2 separate regions of the Homo sapiens genome follow, and region 2 is linked to region 1. Evidence: promoter capture Hi-C in human tissues and cell types (Jung and others, 2019). All regions are on one chromosome and are shown on one strand. The core of a region is centred on a gene start or on the middle of the fragment in contact, and the rest is flanking DNA. Distances in the headings are between cores, read along the strand shown. Region 1 holds the start of RPS6KL1 (ribosomal protein S6 kinase like 1). Region 2 overlaps TMED10 (transmembrane p24 trafficking protein 10).

Evidence for each region. Contacts are between HindIII fragments. The study calls those that stand out against the background at their distance.
Region 2: a contact is called between a fragment that was not itself captured here and the fragment with the promoter of RPS6KL1 in region 1, in 1 of the 25 tissues and cell types used here (bladder).

The regions. Positions count from the first base shown.
Region 1 is chr14:74,921,270-74,925,444 of GRCh38, forward strand. It overlaps RPS6KL1 (ribosomal protein S6 kinase like 1), which reads right to left and starts at 1,991. Exons shown (of 12, transcript NM_031464.5): 1 at 1,911-1,991; 2 at 709-1,216; 3 at 8-292. The coding sequence starts at 272. RefSeq lists enhancers at 744-1,515, 1,516-2,286 and silencers at 1,657-2,066, 2,157-2,216. The HindIII fragment of the contact is 16,501 bases long and covers 1-4,175 here.
Region 2 is chr14:75,150,840-75,155,109 of GRCh38, forward strand. TMED10 (transmembrane p24 trafficking protein 10) reads right to left here. Exons shown (of 5, transcript NM_006827.6): 2 at 1,193-1,304. Among named protein-coding and RNA genes, the nearest start is that of TMED10, 24 kb to the right of the region's middle. RefSeq lists an enhancer at 1,525-2,189. The HindIII fragment of the contact is 4,149 bases long and covers 1-4,041 here.

The DNA of each region.
Region 1 (4,175 bases), core at 741-3,240:
TCCTCACCGTGTATGCCACGGAGCAGCACGTCCACGCCATTCTGATAGTGGTTGAAGGCCGCCTCATAGTCCTCACTAACATCGCGCTCCAGGGCCAGCCGGATCTGCGTGGCCGCATCCACCAGATAGTCACGTTTTGTCATGTCAGGCACTCCCAGAGCCACCCTGTTGCGAATCTGCTCCAGGTACACGTGAGCTTGGGACCGTGCTCGTGAGCAAGGCTCAGGCTCCAGGCCGGGGCTGGGCAGGCACTCACAGGCCACCAGGCTCATGGCTGCCCTGCAGCTGGGACCTGGAATGGGCAAATGCATTAGGGAGGACCTAGCTGGTAGCAACACCCCTATCCGCACCCCAGTTTCCTCCACTGAATGTCAGGGAGACTCATATTCACCTCCAAAGACTGAAGGGGTCAGAGCTAAAGTGGGTAAGGTCTTTTCATGGATCCAGGTCCTTCCTAAGTGGTGGTAATGATAGAATCATAACCAGCTCAGGATTCTGTTTTCTTTTCTTTTTTTTTTTTTTTTTTGAGTCAGAGTCTCGCTATGTCACCCAGGCTGGATTGCAGTGGTGCGATCTCGGCTCACTGCAACCTCCACTTCCCAGGTTCAAGCAATTCTCCTGCCTCAGCATCCCAAGTAGCTGGGATTACAGGCACTTGCCTACCACACCTGGCTATGTTTTGTATTTGTAGTAGAGACGGGGTTTTACCATGTTGGCCAGGCTGGTCTTGAACTCCTGACCTCAAGTGATCCGTCTGCCTCGGCCTCCCACAGTGCTGGGATTATAGACGTGAGCCACCGCGCAGGCCTGGGGCTCTGTTTTCCTTTCCAGTCAAATTCAGTTCAGCAAACATTTCTGGAGCATCTGGTACTGTGTTGAGCTCTGGAGAGAGCTGAGGATATCTGTGATCCACAGCCACCTTCACAGGGCCTCCGTAGAGCAAGCTTGGTATCCAGTACGCATTCAGCACATGGAGGCCACACACGCTGGGCTCAAATGCTGTTCCTCATGCTGTTCCCTCCACCCTGCCTGTTGTCTCCTCCCTGCTCCTCCTGTGGGAATCTCATTTACCCTTTGGGGTTTAGCACTTCTCCGTGGACCGGATGGATTGCCCCTGCTGTGTTTTGTTCCCTTGGTCCTGAGGTCAGTGTGGTCAGCGAGTGAGGACCCCTCCTGGAGCCAGCAGAGAGCAGAGCACAGAGCTGGGCTGTAAGAACTGTTGGCAGACGGAATGACTGAGTGGCAGACTCGGTGCCACGTTGGATGGGGGGTAGAAGAGGGCAGGGTGACCCAGCCCCAGGGAGGGTCGCTCTGTCCTCCTGGCTTTACTTTTGAGAAGGTCATGTGGCCTCCAAGGACCTGACAGCAGCTTCTTCCTGAGCAATGTGTGACCCAGGCGGCCAAAGGGATGACAGCCGTGGCTGCGGGAAGGGAAGGGGCTCAGAGAGAGGCCCACAAAGCTACCCCGCCTTTGCTCTCCCAGGTCCCACTGGGAATGGGCAGGACCCGGAACTTCCAACCCCAGGTCATTTGGAGAGAAAGAGGAGAGAGCAGGATGGGCGGTGGGGCGGGGAGGGAGACCCACAGCCTCAGCCGGCGGGGAGCTGAATCCCGGCCAGGATGCGGCCAGGAGGCAGAGGGAGGCCGCACCATCCCTGCTCGGCCAAGCCCAGGGGAACTTGAGGCTCTGAGGCCTTGCTCTGGGGGGTGCCCGGGTAGGACTGGCTTCAGGGTCCACCCCGCCGGGCAGGGTCCTGCCGGGCAGAGCCGCCGGCCCCGCCTGGACACAGAAAGCGGCGCGTGCAACCCACGGGGCCCCAGCCGCAAGGTGCACGGTCCCAGGGTGGAGGGACGGCCGAGGGGGCCCCTCGCCTGGGAGGGTGGAGAAGGGACCGGACAAAACACCGTACCTGCCCGAGCTGGGAGCCGGGTCCGCGGGCCAGGCCTCCCCCTCACGTACCGGCCCTTCACGCCAGAGCGCGCCGCGGGCCGCTGCTTTCCGGCATCCAGCGTGCGGGGCCAGCCGGTGCAGCGCGGCCATTGGCTGCGGATGAGCTCATACTTGAGCCTTAGAATAAACCACCAATCACCGCCCGGCTCGGCTCCTGCCGGCCTTAAAGCCGCAAGGTCTGCACGGCTGGGCTGTGAGGGGCGGGGGGCGGTTTAGAGAGGGGAGGGTGGGATGGGATGTGGGGTGGGTGGGGAGAGCAGGTCTAGAATCATCCAGGGATGCGGAAGGGGCTGCTTCAGAAATCTAGACGTGCCACTTCTAGGACTTTTCTCATTCATTGCTTCATTCATTTATTCAACGATTCAATGCTATGTATTGAGAGTCTCCCATGCATGAGGAGCTGGATGTTGAGATACAGCCGTGAACTAGACAGCGCTGTTTACATCCGCATGGGGCTTACAGTCTAGTGAGGGCTACCGAGAGTAAAGAACCCAGCAATAGAAGGCTTTTGATATCAGAACCGAGCTTAAAATTCAAGACATAGGCCGGGTGCGGTGGCTCATGCCTGTAATCTCTGCATTATGGAAGGCTGAGGCGGGAGGATCATTTGAACCTAGGAGTTCAAGACCAGCCTGGGCAACATAGGTAGACCCAATCTCTATAAAAATTACAAAATTTAGCTGGGCATGGTGGCGTGTGCCTGTGGTCCCAGTTACTCAGGAGGCTGAGGTGGGAGGATGGAGTGAGCTCGGGAGGTTGAGGCTGCAGCGAGCCGAGATCGTGTCACTGCACTCCAGCCTGGGTGATGGGGCAACAGATCACAGGCAACCCTGTGACACAGATCTCACCTGCAGGTTCAGTGCTGACTGGCTTCACACTGTCCCCCGGCTGCACTTGCTCTACCTTAGACACCCTTTCATACTTTCTCCCTCTGACTCCCACCCGTCCCCCTATCCTCACTCTCAGCCAGCACTGTTGCTTCATCCTTCCCTTGACAGCAGTGGCGCACAGACTCCCACAGGCTTGCTCTTGGCCCGCGGGCGGGGCTGTGCCCACACTCTGCTTCCAACCTTTTTCCACAGGTGACTGTCTGTGCCCCATCGAAGGCCACCCTTCCAGGTGGGCATCAGTCCCGTGCCATCACCTACTCAGCGACACCACTCCAGCGATTCTCCCGTCTCTCCCACTAGATAATTCCCACCTGATACAAACATAATGCTTGTTTCTCCCCTCTTAAAAGCAAAACAAGAAAACAAACCAAAATACACTCTAGGCCTCACTTCTTTACCTACCACCCTAGGTTTGCAGTACGGCTAATTTCCTTTTTTTTTTTTTTTTTTTTTTTTTTTTTAGTAGAGATGGGGTTTCACCATATTGCCCAGGCTGGTCTCAAACTCTGGAGCTCAGGTGATCCACCCACCTTAGCCTCCCAAAGTGTTGAGATTACAAACGTGAGCCATGACATCTGGCCCAAAAGTAAACTTTTAAAACACATCCTATAGAATGGGAGAAAATACTTGGAAATCATATATCTGATAAGGGTCTAGTATCTAGAATATATAAAGGACTCTTAAATTCAACAATAAAAAGACATCCCATTTAAAAATGGGCAAGTAATTTGAATAGACATTTCTCCAAAGAAGATATGCAAATGCATGCCATAAGTACATGAGAAGATGCTCTACATCATTAGTCATTAGAGAAATACAAATTAAAATCACAAGGAGACACCACTTCTCACCCACTGGGATGACCACAACGAAAAAGACAATAATAAGTGTTGACAAGGATCTGGAGAAATTTGCATATTGCTGATGAGAATGTAAAAGGAACAGCTGCTTTGGAAAACAATTTGCCAGTTCCTCAAAAAGTTAAAATAGATTTACCATATAACGCAGCAATCTACTTCTAGGTGTATACTTAAGAGTATTGAACACATATGTTCACATAAAAACTTGCACATGAATGTTGATAGCAGCATTATTCATAATAGCCAAAAAGTGGCAACACCCAAGGTCCATCACCTGATGCATGCATAAAATGTGATGTATCCGTATAATGGAATATTATTCAGCCATAAAAAAGAGTGGAGTGCTGATACATGCTACAACATAGATGAACCTTGAAAACAGTATACTAAGTGAAAGAAGCCAGTCACAAAAGGACACATATTGTATACTTCCATTTATAGGAAGTTTCCAGAGACAGAAAGTTCATGTCAGGG
Region 2 (4,270 bases), core at 717-3,216, 230 kb after region 1:
GAGTCTCCTTTGTAAAAGGACCCTTCATAATTTTTCTCTCTGCATTTGCCTGGCAAACAGACAATCCTTTTTGTTTGTTTTGAGACAGAGTCTCGCTCTGTCACCCAGGCTGCAGTGCAGTGGTACGATCTTGGCTCACTGCAATCTCTGCCTCCTGGGTTCAAACAATTCTCCTGCCTCAGCCTCCCGAGTAGCTGGGATTACAGGCATGTGCCACCACCACATCTGGCTAATTTTTGTATTTTTAGTAGAGATGGGGTTTCGCCATGTTGGCCAGGCTGGTCTCAAACTCCTGGCCTCAGGTGATCCGCCCGCCTCGGCCTCCCAACTGCTGGGATTACAAGCGTGAGTCACTGCGCCCGGCCAGTTTTTTTTGTTGTTGTTGTTGTTTATTTTTTTGAGATGGAGTCTCACTCTGTCACCCAGGCTGGAGTGCAGTGACACAATCTTGCTCACTGCAACCTCCACCTCCTGGGTTTAAGTGATTCTCCTGCCTCAGCCTCCTGAGCAGCTAGGGTTACAGGCACGAGCCACCATGCCCAGCTAATTTTGTATTTTTAGTAGAGACAGGGTTTCACCATGTTGGCCAGGCTGGTCTCAAACTCCTAACCTTCAGTGATCTGCCTGCCTTGGCCTCCCAAAGTGCTGGGATTACAGGCATGAGCCACCATGCCCAGCCTTTTTTTTAAGACTTCACTTTGTTAGAGCAGTTTTAGGTTCACAACAAAACTGAGAGGAAGGCACAAAGATTTCCCATATCCCCCTTCCTCTTACATATGCATAGCCTCCCCCATTATCACCATTTCCCACCAGAGTGGTACATTCATTACAAATGATGAACCTACATGGACACATCACTATCTACCAAAGTCCACAGTTTACATTAGGATTCACTCTTGGTGTACATTCCAAATGTAATGTTCGGACAACCATATAATGACATGTATCCACTATTACAGTATCATACAGAATATTTTTACTGCCCTAAAAATTCTCTCTGTTCCACCTATTCAATCTTTTATTCCATGTAGTCGACCTTTTAAAAGGTGCTCCAAAGACTACAAGGTAACAGGTCTCCAAATCAGAATAAATAAAGAATACAAATGAAACTAGATATTAAGTGCTGACTGTATTAAGGAGCATTAGAGTTGGAGAAGATTCTTAATCCAGAGAAACACTCTTGATTACTCACCCTTGCTCTCAAAACACACTTCAAACATGTCATAATCTTCAGTGGTAAAGGCAAATTTCCCCTTGGTTGCATCCTCTTTGGAGTAGAGAATATGGCCAGCAGAATCTGTGATCTAAAATAAGAAAAGTAGTAAGAATAGGCAGCAAATAACACTCAGGAAGAGAACTTACAGAAACTGGGAAGATAGAGACACTATCTATGAAAGACAATTGATAGTTCTCATTATGATGACTATGTTCCAACCATCCCCAAAGACAAAAACTGGATTAGAAGATTAAATCCAAATACAGCAAATTTCATCCATTCAAATAGCCTAATCACACTGTGGGCTAAAATCTGTTGCTGCTATAGGATGTCTTACCATACCAAAAAGTTAATCTAGCTAATGCTCCAAGTTACATACATTGGATTTATTGGCAAAAACTCACTAGTATCATTCCGCATAGAGGAACATGTCACAAAAATGAAAGTAGACAATTATCAAAAGATTATACAAGAGGGACAAAGATATATAAAAACACATTTATTCTATAAAACAAATTTGATGGGGAAGGGGTGTGGGTGGAGAATAAAATTAGGACACACAATACAAGGACAGCAGGAAGAAAAGCATACATAGAGAAGACAATCCAGGAGATCTATTCCTGCAAATTTCATGTTAATTATGTCAACGGCCAGGTAGAGTGGGAACAAAACACAGGAAACAAAAAAGAAGTTTCTGGCCAGGCATGGTGGCTCACGCCTGTAATCCCAAACTTTGGAACGCCAAGGCAGGAGGATCACTTGAGCTCAAGAGTTCAAGACCTGGCTGGGCGCGGTGGCTCACGCCTGTAATCCCAGCACTTTGGGAGGCCGAGGCGGATGGATCACGAGGTCAAGAGATCAAGACCATCCTGGCCAACCAACATGGAGAAACCTCGTCTCTACTAAAAATACCAAAATCAGCTGGGCGCAGTGGCATATGCCTGTAGTCCCAGCTACTCAGGAGGCTGAGGCAGGAGAATCGCTTGAACCTGGGAGGCGGAGGTTGCAGTGAGCCAAGATTGCGCCACTGCACTCCAGCCCAGATGACAGAGTGAGATTCTGTCTCAAAAAAAAAGTGTTCAAGACCAACATGGCGAAACCTCATCTCTACAAAAAATACAAAAATTAGCCAGGCATGGTGGTGCGCACCTATAGTCCCAGGTACTGGGAAGCTTGCCGTGTCACTGCAGCCTGGGTGACAGAGCAAGACTCTGTCTCAAAAAAACAAAAACAAAAACAAAAAGGAGAGAAATTTATCCTAAAAAAAAAAAGGTATCTTTGGCTTCCATAAATGATTATTCCTTTCTTCTAGATCCTTAGCTTTAGCTCTTCAGACTTAAGCTGCTCTATTACCAAAGAATGGCCTATCAGCACAGAATAAAGGGCATATACTGCTAAGTAAACAGCCACATACAAAGCAAGGGAATTCCATGGTAATTTAACAGACTGGATCTTAGCCTTCATTTCTAGAGCACGTGGCTGTCTTAGTAGAAAGCATATTTCATCACTTAAGACTGGAAGCTACTTTGCAATGTGGAACACAAAAGTAGTGGCTTAATTACATTAAACTGGATGTTCTAATGCTATTTGTTAAAACATAATTCTTTTAAGGGGAAATTTTAAGCAGGAAAATTAAGTAGCACACATTTAAGCTTATATATTTAAAAGTACTTTATAACAGTAGTTATTTCTGAGGGGTGAGACTTTCTATTTTTTTTTCCCTTTTTTTTTTTGAAATGGAGTCTCACTCTGTCCCCAGGCTGGAGTGCAGTGGCGTGATCTCGGCTCTCTGCAACCTCCGCCTCCCGGGTTCAGGTGATTCTCCTGCCTCAGCCTCCCGAGTAGCTGGAACTACAGGCACCCACGACCATGCCCAGCTAATTTTTTTGTATTTTTAGTAAAGACAGGGTTTCCCTGTGTTGGCCAGGATGGTCTCGATCTCCTGACCTCATAATCCAACCCGCCTCGGCTTCCCAAAGTGCTGGGGTTACAGGCGTGAGCCACCACACCCGGCCTTTTTTGAAAATGACATGTAGCCGGGCGTGGTAGCTCTGCCAGGTGCAGTGGCTCACGCACCTGTAATCCCAGCACTTTGGGAGGCCGAGGCAGGTGGATCACCTGAGGTCAGGAGTTTGAGACCAGCCTGGCCAACATGGTGAAACCCCGTCTTTACTAAAAATACAAAAAAAAAAAAAAATTAGCCAGGAGTGGTATTGGGCGCCTGTAATCCCAGCTACTTTGGAGGCTGAGGCAGGATAATCGCTTGAACCCGGGAGGCAGAAGTTGCGGTGAGCCGAGACTGTGCCACTGCACTCCAGCCTGGGCAACACAGCGAGACTCTGTCTCAAAAAAAAAAAAAAAAAAAAAAAAAAAAAGGCATGTATCACTGGATCACTTATATTCAAAAATAATAATAAAGTTATTTTATTTTGGAAAAAATTGATAATAACTAAAGAAAAGTTATCACTACTAGATAAATTTGAAATGACAGATTAACTAAAAAAAGTTTTATGGCACATCTTCTAAATTCCCTAATAAACAGTAGTATTAGTCAACTGTCTTCTGCCATCCAGCACCATTTGCTAATTTGTCAAACTTTTAAATTTATTTTTATTTATTTATTTTTGAGACAGAGTCTCGCTCTGTCACCCAGGCTGGAGTGCAGTGATGCGATCTCGGCTTACTGCAACCTCTGCCTCCCGGGTTCAAGCGATTCTCCTGCCCCAGCCTCCCAAGTGGCTGGGATTACAGGCACATGCCACCACACCCGGCTAATTTTTTGTATTTTTGGTAGAGACGGGGTTTCACCGTGTTAGCCAGGATGGTCTTGATCTCCTGACCTCGTGATCCACCTGCCTTGGCCTCTGAAAGTGCTGGGATTACAAGTGTAAGCCATCTCACCTGGCCCTTTTTTTTTTTTTGAGACAGAGTCTCGCTGTGTCACTCAGGTTGTAGGGCAGTGGCGCAATCCCGGCTCACTGCAACCTCCGCCTTCCGGATTCAAGTGATTCTCCTGCCTCAGCCTCCCAAGTAGCTGGGACTACAGGCATGCAC